Regions from separate parts of the Homo sapiens genome. Here regions 2, 3, 4, 5 and 6 are each linked to region 1. Evidence: promoter capture Hi-C in 16 types of primary human blood cells and fetal thymus (Javierre and others, 2016). All regions are on one chromosome and are shown on one strand. Each heading gives the region's core, a stretch centred on a gene start or on the middle of the fragment in contact. The rest is flanking DNA. Distances are from core to core; before and after follow the strand shown. Region 1 holds the start of ZNF619 (zinc finger protein 619). Region 2 overlaps TRAK1 (trafficking kinesin protein 1). Region 3 overlaps TRAK1 (trafficking kinesin protein 1). Region 4 has its middle 53 kb from the start of ULK4. Region 5 overlaps ULK4 (unc-51 like kinase 4). Region 6 overlaps ULK4 (unc-51 like kinase 4).

The links. Contacts are between HindIII fragments. The CHiCAGO score rates a contact against its expected background, and 5 or more counts as called.
Region 2: a contact is called between a fragment that was not itself captured here and the fragment with the promoter of ZNF619 in region 1, in 1 of 17 cell types (total CD8 T cells). The highest score is 5.3, in total CD8 T cells.
Region 3: a fragment that was not itself captured here is called in contact with the fragment with the promoter of ZNF619 in region 1 in 1 of 17 cell types (total B cells); the score reaches 6.0 in total B cells.
Region 4: a fragment that was not itself captured here is called in contact with the fragment with the promoter of ZNF619 in region 1 in 1 of 17 cell types (monocytes); the score reaches 5.5 in monocytes.
Region 5: a contact is called between a fragment that was not itself captured here and the fragment with the promoter of ZNF619 in region 1, in 1 of 17 cell types (activated CD4 T cells). The highest score is 6.8, in activated CD4 T cells.
Region 6: a fragment that was not itself captured here is called in contact with the fragment with the promoter of ZNF619 in region 1 in 4 of 17 cell types (M2 macrophages, M0 macrophages, total B cells and 1 more); the score reaches 8.6 in M2 macrophages.

Annotation. Positions count from the first base shown.
Region 1 is chr3:40,475,782-40,478,537 of GRCh38, reverse strand. ZNF619 (zinc finger protein 619) reads right to left here and starts at 1,416. Exons shown (of 5, transcript NM_001145093.4): 1 at 1,181-1,416; 2 at 535-620. The coding sequence starts at 558. RefSeq lists an enhancer at 1,103-1,242. The HindIII fragment of the contact is 7,181 bases long and covers 1-2,756 here.
Region 2 is chr3:42,192,551-42,195,306 of GRCh38, reverse strand. It overlaps TRAK1 (trafficking kinesin protein 1), which reads right to left. Exons shown (of 16, transcript NM_001042646.3): 8 at 2,102-2,232; 9 at 1,409-1,483; 10 at 366-503. Among named protein-coding and RNA genes, the nearest start is that of CCK, 72 kb to the left of the region's middle. RefSeq lists an enhancer at 285-444. The HindIII fragment of the contact is 1,277 bases long and covers 696-1,972 here.
Region 3 is chr3:42,149,055-42,151,810 of GRCh38, reverse strand. All of the region lies in intron 2 of TRAK1 (trafficking kinesin protein 1), which reads right to left. Among named protein-coding and RNA genes, the nearest start is that of TRAK1, 59 kb to the right of the region's middle. RefSeq lists an enhancer at 1-191. The HindIII fragment of the contact is 2,941 bases long and covers 1-2,756 here.
Region 4 is chr3:42,013,851-42,016,606 of GRCh38, reverse strand. It overlaps a transcript of TRAK1 not described here. Among named protein-coding and RNA genes, the nearest start is that of ULK4, 53 kb to the right of the region's middle. RefSeq lists enhancers at 1,271-1,772, 2,166-2,305 and silencers at 2,496-2,565, 2,626-2,756. The HindIII fragment of the contact is 945 bases long and covers 953-1,897 here.
Region 5 is chr3:41,950,426-41,953,181 of GRCh38, reverse strand. All of the region lies in intron 2 of ULK4 (unc-51 like kinase 4), which reads left to right. Among named protein-coding and RNA genes, the nearest start is that of ULK4, 10 kb to the left of the region's middle. The HindIII fragment of the contact is 675 bases long and covers 1,066-1,740 here.
Region 6 is chr3:41,878,323-41,881,078 of GRCh38, reverse strand. The region is part of intron 17 of ULK4 (unc-51 like kinase 4); the gene reads left to right. Among named protein-coding and RNA genes, the nearest start is that of ULK4, 82 kb to the left of the region's middle. The HindIII fragment of the contact is 1,280 bases long and covers 784-2,063 here.

The DNA of each region.
Region 1 (2,756 bases), core at 167-2,666:
CTCCCTCATCAATCTACATTTTCCACATGTTTCCAGTTCTGGCTTCACTGTACCTTAACTGAGTGGTCTGCAGGGTAAACTCCTCCCTTGGAAGTGTCTATTTAACCTCAGAAATGGCTTTTCTTTGTGTACTGTGAACGCAGACTAGCACTCCTCAAATTTTAATCTGCCCTTTAATTTTCCAGATCTTGTAAAAATGTAGATTCTGATTTAGGAGATCTGGGGAGGGGGCCTGACATTTTGCCTAACAAGAGCCCTCTGTAATGCAAAAGCTGCTCATCTCCAGGCCACACTTTCAGTTCTCATGAATGCAGATTCCCACTTTCTAGGATAATTCATTCCTTCTTTTCCAACCTACCTGACTCTCCCAAATTCACCTACTCTCGTTCGTCAACTCCCCTCGCATACTGTTTTTACATACTTTATTGAAGGATGTAAAACTAAGCATGAGACTGGCCAAGTCAGGCTACTGGGGCTGTACTGACCTTCCATATCTGTTCTGAGTATGGAAAGCTGAAAGAAAGCTCTGCTCACCTGGAACCACACTGTCTGGAGCATGGCTGATGACCCCTGGCTTCATGCACTGCCCTCTAGGTTTGAAAAAGTAAGAACCTGCGGAGCTAAGAGAGAACCACAATGAGACTGATCTGTCTCGTCTCCTACACTTGCCGCCTCTTCCCCTCTGTCTCCTGCCACTAGCATTGCAGATATTCTTGGCACACTAGCTGCTGTCATTCACCCTCTCCACTGATTCATGGGATGTTGCAAATGCTCCCTCTGCATATTCTCCTATAGATCTGCTTGGTGACACTGGAAACTCTAGAAAGAATATCTGTAAAGTAAGAGTCAAGAACTGCAGTGGATTCGTGGCTGTTTTTTAAAAAAAATTCTTGGCCCCACTATGAATGCATTACTAAACAGTTTGTATTGAATGCTTCTAGTGTTCATGGCAAAAACCCAAAACAAGTCTCTGGAGAGAAAGTAGGATATAACGGGGACCCCTAAACAAACCACAGGCTGCAGGACAAAATATAAGTGGTGACCCAGCCCCGGGTGACAAGGGTAAGACGCTTAATGTCCCAGCGGGTGATGCTGACCGAAGACCTAACCGGGATCTGAACGCTCCACCCTGGGAAGCAGGAGACCCTATAGTCACGGCTCCCATCCTCCCCATGAATACCGCGACCCGAGGACATCAGGCCAGCTCCTCGGAGCAGGAAGGTCGAGGGCGTCTCTGAAGACTGGGGACTGGGCCCAGGCTCTGGCGGCGGCGCGGGCCCCTCGGCGACCTCTGCAAGGGCCCAAAGCCTGACCTCCAGAACAGGTAGCCGAGTCAGGGAAGCCCGGGAAACTCAACCCGAGCGCTCGCAAGGTGGCCAAGACGGAAGCATTAGCTGGCCGGCCGTCGGTCCCTACAGCCTCTCTAGGAAGCCGGGAGGCTGGCCCTTCTCTATGGTTCCCACGAAACGAAACTCCAACCCTTCGCTTCCCTTCTCCACAACCGCTCTGCGCCTGGTTTGTTTGTTTTTTAATTTTAATTTTTTCGTGTGTTTTTTGAAACGGGGGTCTCGCTATGTTGCGCAGGCTGTTCTCGAACTCCTGAGCTCAAGCTGTCCGCCCGCCTCGGCCTCCCAAAGTGCTGGGAATACAGGCGTGAGCCACCGCGCCCGGCCGCTCCTGTTTTTCTTTATTATTTTCTCTTATGTCTTAGTACCCCAACTACATGATAAATTCCTCCATATTTAACAATTTGTAACTTAATTAACTGAATTCCTAATTCCTTACCTAATTACTTAATTCCTAACTTAACCTTCTAATGAATTTATAGCCCCTGTCTCCCACTGAATGACTGTGACCTAAGACCATGGGGTATGGTGTCTCATTGTCTGCGTTCCTGGCTCCACTCTATATGGACTTGCTCAAGTTATACTTAAATCGTTGCCTCAATTTATCAGTTGAGAATGGTAAAAGTTTGTAATTTATAAATTCAGTGAATTAACTGAGTCAATTCATGCAACAGTTTTGTAAACCAAAAATAAAATTCTAAGTCCCCCAACCAACTGAATGGACCACTTCTCTCAGCCAAAACATTCCAAAGAAAACCTGGCAATCTAGTTCAGGCCATGATGGGAAGCAGGGGATCGGACTTGCCTCGTTATGCCCTTGGAATTCAGGCACTACGGACCAGCATTAACATTAAAACAGAGATCTTGAGACTGACTAAAACTTTTTTTTTTTTTTTCCGAGATGGAGTCTTACTCTGTAGCCCAGGCTGGAGTACAGTTTCCCGATCTCGGCTCACTGCAACCTCCGCCTCCCGGGTTCAAGCAATTCTCCTGCCTCAGCCTCCTGAGTAGCTGGGATTACAGGAACGTGCCAACACGCCCGGCTAATTTTTGTATTCTTAGTAGAGACGGGATTTCACCATGTTGACCAGGCTGGTCTTGAACTAGACCTCGTGATCGCCCGCCTCGGCCTCCCAAAGTGCTGGGATTACAGGCGTGAGCCACCACGCCCAGCCCAAAACAAACTCTTTATAGCAATAAGACATCAAATTCTAACCTGACTCTAGTATAGTCTCATGTGACAGATAACAGGCCCTGAAATAAACTGAAGTATTTTACCCTAAAATGTATTTCTTTGACATATTTTGAAATGACCCTGTAAAGCTGTCTTTTGTGAAGAAAATCTACATCCTGTAAAGAATCCCCTTCACTTTCAAAGTGTTTTCCTTGATCCAGTAGAGAATTAACTAA
Region 2 (2,756 bases), core at 85-2,584, 1.7 Mb before region 1:
GCATCATGTCAGTGCTCAGGAAGTTTTGGATTGTGAAGCATTCTGGATTAGAGATGCTCAACCTGTATGAGTCAGATCTTCCAAATACCTCAGGTTCCCACTAAAGCAAGTTCCTACTAAATTTATCTTTTAATGGCAGGAGTAGAAAAGACCACAGATTTAGAGGAACAGAAAATAACCAATTTGTCTTATGTAGTTAAGAAACCACCAGTCAGATTCAAGTGTCCTTGATTCAGACTCAGATCTGAACTGTACAACGAGAAGCGAACTGTGAACACCCAACTCCAGTGGCCAGAATGTCAGACACTGTGCTCCTGTCACCAGAACCCCTCCTGTCCTCTGGCTGGGAAGAAAGCACAGCTCACCATGGGAAACAGGCCCAGTGAGTGGTAGCGCCGAGACGTGGTATTGGGCATGGTTTTGTTCCGGAGGTTCTTCAGCTCCTCCTGCGCCTCATGCAGCATCTCCATGCACTCTGCGTACTTGTCCTCCAGCTCACGCAGCTGCAGGCAGGAAAGACACAGAGGGTCAGGATCTCCTGAGCACCCAGGTGTACACACATCTGCCCATCCGAAGGCCAGAAAGACACAGCAATCTAAGAGTCCCCAGCACGTGTGGAACCAGCTGCCCTGTGCGCCTGTGGCCAAATAACAGAATTTTCAAAGGCTTGCTTTTTCTTTGACTTGAGGCAAGCTTACAGACTCAGAAATCTTCTAAAATACCAACAATGGGCAAATGAAACAAAACCAACTTCATGCAAAAGAAAAATCAGGCTAGGAATGATGGCTTACAGCTGTAATCTCAGCACTTTGGGAGGGCAAGGCAGGCAGTTTGCTTGGGCACAGAAGCTGAGACCAGCCTGGGCGACATGGGAAAACCTCATCTTTCAAAAAAAAAAAAGCAAAAATTAGGTGGGTGTGGTAGCCCACACCTGTAGTCCCAGATACTCAGGAGGATCACCTGAGCCTGGAGAGGTCGAGGCTGCGGTGAGCCATGCTCATGCCACTGTACTCCAGCCTGGGTGACAGAATGAGACCCCATCTCAAAAAGAGAAAAAGAGAGAAAGAAAAAGAAAATCGTCACACCCATGTTTCAAGCCACACCTGTGAGATTCCTCTCCCAGAGTGCTCTGTGTTGTATTGTTTCATTTCTTTGAACATTTTTTGGACACCTGCACGTGCCAGGCTCAGCTGGTGTAGAGCCCTGCCACACAGGTGCCCATAACCAGTAACAGTGTCAGTGGGCACAGAACCAAGGTGCAACTGGGTTTACTCTCCCACGAATAAAAATGAAATGAAATTCAAAATAAAAACAGTAGTTGCGATGGACGTGACTAAAGCTGTCCGGGAAGGCTAATCCACCTTGGCTGCAATCAGAGGCACTGAAGGAATGAGGGAGAGGTGCTCACCTCGGCTGTGAGCTGCCGCTGGGCATCCTTAGCAGCCCCCAGATGCTGGACAAGTTCTTCATTTTCCACTGCGCACTAAAGCATGGCAAAGATAGATCACTTCCTAAGATACTTGGTAAAAGTCCAACTTTTTCCCTCTTATTAACCTAATCTGTAATGAACTCATCACTTTCTACAAGGACATGCTCATCTTATACTCAAATTCTGCTTTTTATATTATTTTGAAGGTAAAGTCTTTCCTATATCCACATTCATTCTCTATAGCCCACCGCCCCACCCCCATCTTCCAAAGCTCTCTGGAAGCATTTTACCCCACACTAATAGCAAAGTCCATTTTGCTGCCTCTTCTTAAATCTGAAGAGGATACTGCTCTACTGCAGCACATATCTAGTGCACTGTGTAAAAACAAATACTAGACTAGATGATCCATAAGTTAAACTGCAAAAGTCCATATTTACAACATCTTTTTAATGAATTCAATATAATTTTAGGAGATAAGAGGTCACAAATAAGACTCGTCACCAATTCAGGTAATCAGTTTTATACTACTGAGTCCACTAAGCTTTTTCTGCAAAGCGGCAACACGAACTGCTAAGATATGAAACTAAAGAGCACTGTCTTCTGGAGTAAATGTCCCTTCCCCGTCTCAGCATGGCCATTGTTGTATCAGCCAGATAAACAGAGAAGCCTTACAGCTTTTGCCTTTTTCTGCAAATCAACTATTTGCGATAGCAGGTGTGTGATCTCCTCTTGCTGGCGGGCAGCATCTTCCGTCTTCTTGGCCAGTTCCTCTGAGATACTAGCAATCTGGACATTGGCATCCCCTTTGACAAAGAAGCAACAATCAGGAGAGGAAGTCAGAAAACCACACATGCAGACCCAGAGAGAATGGTTTCTTTGTGGTTTGCACAAGAAAAACCATCCTTACTAAAAGACAGGGTAGAGTGGGGAGGGTGCAGGAAGGAACTCATAATGACCATTTTCCCACATGGAGAAGCAAAGCAGCTTCTTCAGGGCTCAATCAGTTATGAAAAAGAATCTCACCCCATTAGATAGCACTCCTGAGCTCAGTGTAGGGTCCCAAGCCCACCAACCAAGGCTGTCTCCCCAGAACAAATCAGGAAGGCTCCAGTGGTCAGATAGAAAGTGACAAACAAAACATGAGTGCATCTAGCCACATCCTCACATTCCACACAAGAGAACCCATGTGACTAAACAGGAATCCCCTGCTGCACCCAGTTCTAAAAAGGAACTACTGACTGCACAGTGCAATTTCCTTGGAGTTTTCAACCCATATTCAGAGTCATAACTCACTTGACTAGATTTGAACATGAGGTGTGTTTCATCA
Region 3 (2,756 bases), core at 151-2,650, 1.7 Mb before region 1:
AAAAAGACAGAGGCAAATAAAAGACAGGTACATATAAACAGGGGCAAATTTCATTTCCAGACTAATCTGCCTGAAGCTAGGAAGGAACTCAACTAGTTAGAAATGTGTAAGCAAGTAACCACAAAATTGGCACATAATTGAAATCTCCTTTTTGTACGTTTCCTAAACCAGTTTATTTCTGGACTTCTGTTCCTTTATTCCCTACTTTGCTACCTCTTTAAATGGGAGTATGAAAATACCAGTGGTCCCAGTAAATTCTGTCTCAAAAACCTTCTTCCCTTCATCCAAAATGGGATAGATGATAAAGGACAAGTATTTTGCTCAACATACATTCAGACAATAACAATAATTCAGAAATAAATAAATCAATATATTTACCCTTGAACAGTTGAGCCATCTCCTCTTCTATTTTCCTTTGCTCTTAGAGGAAGACAGATCAGGGTCTCTCAGGGCCAAAAGACTCAACTGAGGAAGTGCTGGGTAAGAAAATCCTTCTGATGGATACCCAGATAAGAGCAGGCCTCCGCTCACCCTCCAGATTGACCATGGCAAGCGACTGGCTTTATTTCAGGGTGTAAAGGGAACTGGATGGTGTGGCATTTGGGTCATGGTATTAGGAAACCTTCTTCCTCCACTTCTAGGATGGCATCCACAGAGCTATGGCCCCACCTGACTAATCCACGGGGCCTCTGACAGCACCCTGCTGTAACCAGTGCTCCCTAATCCAATGGTACAGTGAGGATGTATTCAATCCCTTACTTTAAAAAGTTATAGAGGGTTCAATGAGTCACAAATCACCAAGGAAACTAGAAGGAGGTCAATGATGGTTTCCAAAAAGGAGCATCTCTAGAATTTCCTTTTGGAGTTAGGTAACAGAATGGGAACTTGCTTTTAGAATGAATATATTCCAAAGAAAAAATTCACTCATCTTTTCCCCTCATGACCCTGGGAACTGCCTCCAATCCTTGTTACTCAAAATAGTTAAAGATGTACACAGAACGAACATGACAATGTCTGCATCTAAAGCTGGGGGCCAGTGAGATTGAACTGGCATAGTTTTTCCACACATTTAAATACCATCCCCTGAGAAAGCCTTAACCCACAGTCGCGGCAAAAATCAGTGGATAAGAGATAATTATGTAGTTTTTCAGTTTACTAACTAGGCCAGGTCCCAGCCTGTTACATCATTCAGGTTAATCAAATGTAGTCAGGAATAGAGCATTCTGAAACTCCCGACTCAATTAAAAAGCACTTACCTTATCTATTAATGGCTCATATAGGGCTGGGAACATATCATCACTGGGGAACAGACCCTCAAAGTGTATATATTAATTGGGCCCCTTTTTTGTGAAGGCATGTGATATGAGGGTCACTTTCAAGACAAAATTAAAGACAGATTAACTGTGTAATACACAATTTTGATGTCCAACACCCCAGGAACCTGAGACCCCGCCCACTGTGATGTCTCTGAGAACGCACCTCAGTGCTGTTTTCTGTGTGCTTGAAACCTCCTGAGACCTGTCCAGCCACACAACTTGGCCTCCACCCAGTCTCCCTTGGAATGTGCCACACCCTCCCTGCACAAACCAAGGTAGTGACAGAAGGACACATTCTTTCCCTGCCCCTCCCATCACCTCCCCACCCCCATCTCTGTTGGATCCAACAAGCAAACTTCATTTGAATCACCCGCTAAGTGGTAAGCTGCTTCTGCCTTTTCTCCAGCCTCTGATGGTTCCCAGGTCTGGGCTCAGAAAAGGGCAGAGTCTTCCAGGCCTGCTGCTGACAGTCCAGGAAGCCACCTCCTGAACACACTATTCCAAGCCCCCAGTTTCCTATCCCCTCCAACAGCAAGAGCGCAGTGAACACATTTCCACTTGCACACATTCATGCATCAACAACACACTCACGTCTCACACCAGAGAAAATTCAATCCAATAGAAGTATAACACTTACAAGCCCAGCACACCAAAAACCATCTCCCCTTCTAAGCAAACAATCATACATACTGCAGGAGTCTTTCACGGTAAAGAGCCCTGCCCACCTGCCACCTCCTCCACCATGCCTTTGGAATTGCCAGAGCCAGTGGTGCTAGTTCTGGTACCTCCCACCCGCCAGCCGCCTGTCTCCCCTAAAGGTTTCAGGACACCCCCCACCCAGAAGGAGACAATACCCCTATACATCCCGGCTCTGTTTTGCAGGGGCCATAATTACCATCCGAGCATTCTTCATAATACCAGTCTAGTTCATAATAATCCGCTTCGATAAATTTCTGCATAGTCAGTAGTCTTGCAGAGGAAAGAATGGACTTCACAGCACCATCAACGTCAAGTAAAACGCTGCCATGCCTCCCCGCCCTTCCAGAATACTGGACAGAAGAATATCCCGAAACACACCAGAATTAGGCTGTACATTCTTAACGACAGTCTGGAGCCAAAACAGTAAAGTGGGCAATGAAAAGAAAAATTCTATGGGGGAAGGAGGGAGTAGGAGGAGCAGAAAGGAAGGCAATTTGCAGAGAGCTAACGGAGACCCTGGCAGCACTGCCAATAAAGCAGCACTGGACAGCAGCCCTGAATGGGAGTAGCCAGGATCGTCCTATCCAGACGCCTAGAGGGTGACGTCAGAGACACACACCACCACTGGCTGTCTCACTCAAGCCTCGTCTCCTGCTCGCCGCTCATCTTTCAATCTAACCGTTGCCATAGAAACTGGCCGGCTCTGAAAAATGATGCAGAGATGGAGGAAATGTCTTCCAA
Region 4 (2,756 bases), core at 176-2,675, 1.5 Mb before region 1:
TCAAGATGGAGAGCCCAGATGGTTAATTCAAGAATCACCAAACAATTACAGAGGCCTACTATATACAAGGTCAGAGGCAGGGACTCAGAATGCAACGACAGGGACTGGGAGTGGTGGCTTGCGCCTATAATCCCAGCACTTTGGGAGGTCATGGCCAGCAGATCACTCGAGGTCAAGAGTTTGAGACCAGCCTGGCCAAAGTGGTGAAACCCCGTCTCTACTAAAAATACAAAAATTAGCTGGGCGTGGTGGCAGGTGCCTGCAATCCCAGCTACTCGGGAGGCTGAGGCCAAAGAATCACTTGAACCTGTGAGGTGGAGGCCGCAGTGAGCCAAGATCGCACCACTGCACTCTAGCCTCGATGACAGAGCGACACTCTGACTCAAAAAGAAAAAAAAAAACAAAAAACCAGAATGCAATGACAGGAACAAAGTCCACTTAAGATGGCAAACCTTAAGGTGTTGTTAGTTTGGAAAGTGAAAGTTTAAGAACTCCATTCAATGTGAATAGTGCTCTATTATTTTTGAAAGCCCTTTTATTTTTATGTTTTTTGTTTTTGTTTTTGTTTTTGAGATGGGGTCTTGCTCTGTCGCCCTGGCTGAAGTGCAGTGGCGGGATCTTGGCTCAATGAAACCTCTGCCTCCCGGATTCAAGCTATTCTCCTGACTCACCCTCCTTAGTAGCTGGGATTACAGGTGCCCATCATCATGCCCAGCTAATTTTTGTATTTTTAGTAGAGACGGGGTTTCACCATGTTGGCCAGGCTGGTCTCGAACTCCTGACCTTAAGTGATCCACCTGCCTCAGCCTCCCAAAATGCTGGGAATACACGCACAAGTCACCATGCCCGGCCCAAAGCTCTTTTATATTACCTGATTTGACCCTCATAATAAACCTATAAAACAATAATTACTATTATATGCTTTATTATCCCTGTTGGGGCTCAAAAAGCTTACCAAATTACAAACCCAATCATGTTGGAAGGAGACCTGAAAACGCTCCCATGTCATTCAGTCAAACTTTTACAGACACCTCCATTTAAAACATTGTCTCCCAGAGAGGGGAGAGCAGGACAGAGAGGTTAAGTAAGGTCACACAGCCAATAGAGAGGAGTTGGAATTTCAGTCCAGGTTTCCCACTCCAAGACCACAGAGAAGGAGAAGCAACACAGCCAGAGTGGAGACACCCTCAAGCGAGCGCTGGGGATGGGAAACTGGTCCCTGGGGCATCAAACAGGAAACGGCTGGTGCTGGGGCCAAGCTGAAACCCAACTGTTGCCAAACTCGCAGCCCTGAGACAAGGGCTTTAAACCGATTCAGCATCCCCCAGAGCCGGGCTCAGCTTTCCAGCTGGCTTAGGCTACACTGGGCTGGGAACCTCTGTGACAAAGCTGAGGTCCAAGATCAAAGAGCAACCGAGTATGACCATTCCAAACCGAGAGACAGAGGGGAAGGCGCCATCTGTCACTCCAGGTCCAACTCTCCAAACCTACCAGTCAAGCTCCCAGCCTGTTGTCCCTTCACTCAATCTGGGGAGACCCTCCCCAGTGCAGACTGGCTCCAGGGCTAATCAGAGCTTAGTCTGAGCACCTTCCTCTTCGCTGCTCTTGTAGTTGGAAATTGGAAAGGACCCTGGAACTAGACCGTTTCCCTATGGTAACCTCCACTCTCCTTCCAGATAAACAAAAGACCCTCCAGAAAAGGTTACCAGTCCCGAATACACACTCACAGACAGTATTGACAACGTTTACACTTTTGAAGCAAATAAAGTTCCAGTGAAGCATATCAGAAAAAAAAAAAAATCAGCGGTCCAACGACGAATACTCTGAAGGCTCTCAAAGCGGACGCTAATTTCAGTGTCTGAACAAGTGCAGCCACGGGTTCTAAAACAGGCAAGCTTAAAGCGGAAGGGGCACCCAGCACCAGCCTCAAGAGCAGGCCGACTTTTAACATCTTTCCTGAAACACAACTTTACAAAAGAAGAAACGATACAGTTCATTACATTTGTTTTTACCTGCAAGAGCTTGACCTTGGAGACTAGAAAAGAACTTTAAAAATCAGGTCAAGAAAGTGACAAAGTAAACTTGTTAACTCTCAAGGATGCAAAGGAGGGCTCTAAAGGCTCTCTGCTCTCTGACACGCTCAGATGATGTCATTTTCATCAAGTTTTGCGGGTGAGTGGGAATCGGGGTGCTGCCCGCGCTCAGCTCCAGGCTCTTTGAAGGTCGCCTCACTGTCACCTCGGAGTGCCGGAGCGCGGAATCCAGGCCACGCGGCGTGGCCGACACGATGCCCTAGGGGCACTTTTCCGGGCTCCGAGGGCCTCCTGCAGGTGCGGCCGGTGCATTAGGAGGGCTGTCCCCGCAGGGTCCCGGCGCCCGGCCTCTCACGCCGCCACTATCTCACGCGGACACTCCCAGAACACCCGTGTCCTTCCCCAGCCCCTGGGCCCGAGGCGCAGGCGGCGCGGGTGAGCGGACCCCTGGCTTACCCGCAAGAGGTGCACGGAGCGCAACCCGGCAGCAGGCGCGGTGCCGGGGGGCCTCGGTGGGGGCTTCCTCCGCGTCGTTCTCGGCCCGGCCCCGGCCGCCCGGCGGCTTCGGTTCCCTCCGCTGCAGCCGGCCGGGCGGCACGGGGGCACTCGCGGGGGCTCCGCTCTGGCGCCGCCGCCTCCTGCTGCCCGCCTGCCGCTCTGGCGCTCCTGGGCTCGGAGTCCGGGGTTCCGAGACGCGGGGGTCGTCGGGGCGTTCGAGACTCT
Region 5 (2,756 bases), core at 154-2,653, 1.5 Mb before region 1:
TGATTTTTAATTGTACAGTTTAGGGATAATAAGTACATTCATATTGCTGTGCAGCTATCACCTCCATCTATCCCCATAACTGTTTTCATCTTGTAAAACTGAAGCTCTGTACCCATTAAACTGTAATTCTTCATTTCTCCTTCTCCAGCTTTTGGCAACTATCATTCTACTTTTTGTCTCTGTGGTTTTGACTACTCTATATAAATGGTATCATACAGCATTTTTTGTCTGGCTTATTTCACCCAGTGTAATGTCCTCAAGGTTTATCCACGTTGTAGCATGTGTTAGAATTTCCTCCTTTTTAAGACTGAATCATATTTCATTGTACATATATAAAGCGCATTTTGCTTATTTATGTAACAGTGGACACAAGTTGCTTCCGTGTTTTAACTATTGTGAACAATGGTGCTATGAATATGTGGATACAAATATCTCTTTGAGATCTTGCTTTATTTTGTGTATATACTCAGAAGTGGAATTGCTGGTCCTATGGTAATTCTATTTTTAATTATTTTAAGACTTGCCATACTGTTTTCCTCAGCAGCTCTGCCATCTTCTCATTCCAGACCATCAGTGCACAAGGGTTCGGTTTCTCTGCATCCTTATCAGTACTTTTTGTCTTTTTTTTTGACAGTAACCATCCTAATGGGTGTGAGGTGGTATCTCATTGTTGTTTTGATTTGCATTTCCCTAATGACTAGTGATGCTGAGCAGCATCTTTTCATATGCTTATAGACAATTTGTATATCTCCTTTGGAGAAATGTCTATTCTTTTTGTCCATTTCTGTAAGTCCTCTGCCCATTCTCTAATCTGGTTGGTTGTTTTCTTGCTGAGTTTTACGACTTCTCTATATATTCTAGATATTAATCTGTTATCAGATATATGATATGCAAATATATTTTCATATTCTATAGGTTGCCTTTTCACTTTGTTGATAGTGCCTTTTGATGTACTAAAGTTTAAAATTTTTGCAGAGTCACATTTGTCTTTTTTTTTGTTATCTGTGTCTTTGGTGTCTTACGCAAATATCCAAAAATCATTGCCAAGCCCAGTGTCATGAAGCTTTTGTCCTATTTGTTCTTCTGATAGTTATGTATTTTTACCTCAGTGATATTTGACTCATTTTGAGTTAAATTTTCTATGTGGTGTTCCGTAAATGTCTCTGTTTGGGCTGCTAAGACAAAATACCTTAGACTGGATAGCTTATAAATAACAGAAATTTATTGGTCACAGTTCTTGGGGCTGGGAAGTCCAGGATTAAGGTGCCAGCAGTTTTGGTGTCTTGTAAGGGCTTGCTCTGTTTCTCAAAGATGGTGCCTTTTATGTGTTCCCACATGGCAGAAGAGGAAAACAGGCCCCCTTATGGCTGTATTCTAAGGACACTAATTTTATTTATGAGGGCAGAGCCCTGATGACCTAATCGCCTCCTAAAGGTTCCACCTCCTAATACCACCACAGTGGACATTAGGTTTCAATGTGAATTTTAGAGGGACACATTCAGACCACAACAGTAAAGGTCCAACTTCTCTCTTTTACATGTGGATATCCAGTTTTCTCAGCACCATTTGTTGAAAAGACTGCCCTTTCCTCATTGAATAGTTTTGGAATACTTATTGGAAGTCATTTGACCATATGTGTGAGGGTTTATTTCTGGGCTCCTTATTCTATACTGTTGGTCTATATTTCCATCTTTATGCCAGTACTATACTGTTTTTATTATTGTAGCTTTGTAGTAAGCTTTGGAATCAGGAAGTGTGTGTTTTCCAGCTTTTTTTTTTTTTTCTTTTAAGATTGTTTTGGCCGTTTGACATACCTTGAGATTCTATATGAATTTTCGGATAGATTTTTCTAGTCCCACAAAAATAGTTGTTGGGATTTTGATAAGAATTGCATTGAATGCATACATTGCTTTGGATAGATTGATTTTGGGTAGTATTTGAATGTTAATTATTAATATCTGAAAATTGCCTTCTAATTCATAAACACGTGATATTTTCCCACTTATTTGTGTCTTTTTTTTTTTTTTTTTTTTTTTTGAGACGAAGCCTCGCTCTGTCCTCCAGGCTGGAGTGCAGTGACACAATCTCGGCTTACTGTAAGCTCCGCCTCCCGGGGTTCACGCCATTCTCCTGCCTCAGCCTCTTGAGTAGCTGGGACTACAGGCGCCCGCCACCATGCCCAGCTAATTTTTTGTATTTTTAGTAGAGATGAGGTTTCACCGTGTTAGCCAGGATGGTCTCCATCTCCTGACCTCGTGATCTGCCCGCTTCGGCCTCCCAAAGTGCTGGGATTACAGGTGTGAGCCACCGTGCCCAGCCTATTTATGTCTTTTAAAAATTTCTTTCAGAAGTTTTTTGTAGTTTTTGTTGTGTAAGTCTTTCCACCTGTTTGGTTAATTCCTATGTGTTTTATTCTTTTTGCTGCTATTATAAATGAAGTTGTTTTCTTGATTTCCTTTTTCGATTGTACATTTGTTAATGTATAGAAATTCCCCCTGGACATTGTGGCTCACACCTGTAATCCCAGCACTTGGAGAGACCGAGGCAGGCGAATTGCTTGAGCTCAGGAGTTTGAGACCAGCCTGGGCAACATGGTGAAAATGTGTCCCTGCAAAAGATACAAAAATTAGCTGGGAGTGGGCCAGGCGCGGTGGCTCATGTCTGTAATCCCAGTACTTTTGGAGGCTGAGGTGGGCGGATCACTTGAGGCCTGGAGTTCAAGACCAGCCTGTCCAACACGGTGAAACCCTGTCTCT
Region 6 (2,756 bases), core at 174-2,673, 1.4 Mb before region 1:
GTGCTTGTAGATAATTTTTCAATAATCAGTAACAAAATTTCAAGTGTAAGATGAATCCTAAATTCTCTATTAGGTTTACTCTCAGTGAACAGGAAAAATTGTGGTTGCAGACCCTATAAGCATCTTATTTTATTTTACTTACTTATTTATTTTTTTGCGATAGAGTCTCGCTCTGTTGCCCAGGCTGTAGTGCAGTGGTGTGATCTTGGCTCGTTGTAACCTCTGCCTCCCGGGTTGAAGAGATTCTCAGCCTCAGCTTCACGAGTAGCTTGGACCACAGGTTCATGCCACCATGCTCTGCTAAGTTTTGTATTTTTAGTAGAGACACGGTTTCATCATGTTGGTCAGGCTGGTCTTGAACTCCTGGCCTCAAGTGATCCATTTGTCTTGGCTTCCCCAAAGTATTGGGATTACAGGCATGAGACACTGCACCTGGCCCCTATAAGCATTTTAATGGCATAGAACCTCATTTTGTTACTCACCTTTGTACCCCACAGTGCCGAGCCAGCAAAGTAATGTGTATTTTAGGCAGTTAATGCTGGAGAGTTTAATGAATGATTAAAAGAATGTCAGAAGAATATGATGGTATAATTTGTTATAAAGAGACAGAAAAAATGGAGCAAAAATCTATTTTACTATCCTTGTAATATAATTTAAATCTCTTTCATCTTATTCTGTCATCAACAGCTACAGAAAATAACTGGTCATGATCTCCTTTATGCATTTAGAAGCATTTATTGACATCTGTATCTTTTTTACTGAAAAATATAACCATCTGAAGCTTATATTCCTAGATAACACATTTACCACTCTGTAATCATTGTGGTTTCTATGTGTAATAATTTTAAAAAACATTTCTGATATTAAGCCAATATATTTAGTCTGAAGCGTGCAGTGGATATATTTTATGAAATTTAATATAGACCCATCAAATTCTAAAACTGAAAGGAATTTTTTTTGTGACTGAGTCTCACTCTGTTGCCCAGGCTGGATTGCAGTGGCGTGATCTTGGCTCACTGCAACCTCTGTCACCCAGGTTCAAACGATTCTCCTGCCTCAGCCTCCCGAGTAGCTGGGATTACAGGCATGCACTACCACGCCCAGCTAATTTATTTTGTATTTTTAGTAGAGATGGGGTTTCACCATGTTGGCCAGGCTGATCACGAACTCTTGACCTCAAATAATCCATCCGCCTCAGCCTCCCAAAGTGCTGGGATTACAGGCATGAGCCACCACTCCTGGCCAAAAGGAGTATTAACAGACATTTTAGGTTAACCCATTCATTAAATTTCTTTATTATCAGCTGGGCGTGGTGACTCACGGCTGTAATCCCAGTACTTTGGGAGGCTGAGGTGGGAGGATAACTTGAGCCTAGGAGTTTGAGACCAGCCTGGGCAACATAAGGAGACCCTGTCTCTAGAAAAAATAGAGTTTGGTGTGGTGGTGCACGTCTGTGGTCCCAGCTACTCAGGAGGCTGAGACATGACCCTGGGAGGTTGAGGCTGTAGTGGGCTATTATCATGCTATTGCACTCCAGCTTGGGCAACAGAGCAAGACCCTGTCTCAAATTTTTTTTTTTTAAATTATGGAAAATTTCAACATATATAGAAGTAGAGAGGCTAGAGTAATGAGGTAGTATCATTTGCTTCCAGCAATCAACACTGGCTAATCTTGTTTCATCTTGTGTCCTGCTTTCATTCCCCCTCTCCCTTTTTCTCTCCCTCTCTCTTTCTTGCTGGAGTATTTTAAATAAAATGATATCATTTTACTAGTAAATATCTTTTGCTAGCAGAAAAGGATTAGAAAAATGTATAACCATGATTTCATTATCACACCCAATACATTCAGCAGTAGTCTCTGAATATCATCTAATACCCAGTTAGTGTTCAGATTTTCTTGGTGGTTTCATACATGTCATTTTGTAATTTTTCTTTGAGCCAGGATTGCGTTTAGATATTGTGACCCTTAAGTCTCTTAATTCCTGGTCTCTTATTTTTTAGTGTCATTTATTTGTTACAGACAAATTGTCCCTTGTCTTGGCCCAAATTGGAATACCAGAAGCTTTACTGCACCCTTTTGGTGTTATTTAATATAGTCCTTTATCACCTGCCTTTCCTTTCTTGCGCATGGCTGCTTAGATGTGGACCCTTGATTCAGTACTTTTTTTTGGGGGGATGGCTTGGGGAAATAGGAATTTGTCACAGTTGGTGCTGTATTTCTCCTACTGCTTCATAGGAAGTGAGACAATTAAACATTATATGCCTCTATTAGAGGGGTTAAAGTTGATCACTAGACTCAGATGTTGTCAGCCTTATTATAAATATTCCCATCACTCTTTTTTTTTCTTCATACCCTTATCTGTGAGTCAGGAACTCCTCACTCTTTTTTTTTTTTTTTTTTTTTAACAGTTTTAACATCAATCGATTATTGTCTACATGTAGTAATCCTTTAGAGTTGCAAAATGATAATTTTCTTATTCTGTAATTTCCTTTCTATTTGTAGTTGGAAGTTTTCTTACAGAAGATCTTTCCCTGATCAACTATTTGGTTATCCTTAAAATAGAGTTTGTTTTGCAAGGCAGGATAAATGCTTGATTGTTCCTCTTCATAGGTCAGTTTTCAGAATAAAGAGTTGGTACCTGAGAAATCTCCGTGTCTAGTGAGATTGATTTTATATTGTTAAGAACTTACAGGTGTATATATGTATATGTATATCGTCTAGTCCTTTGCAGTCATTAGTCTTTTTGATGCTTACAT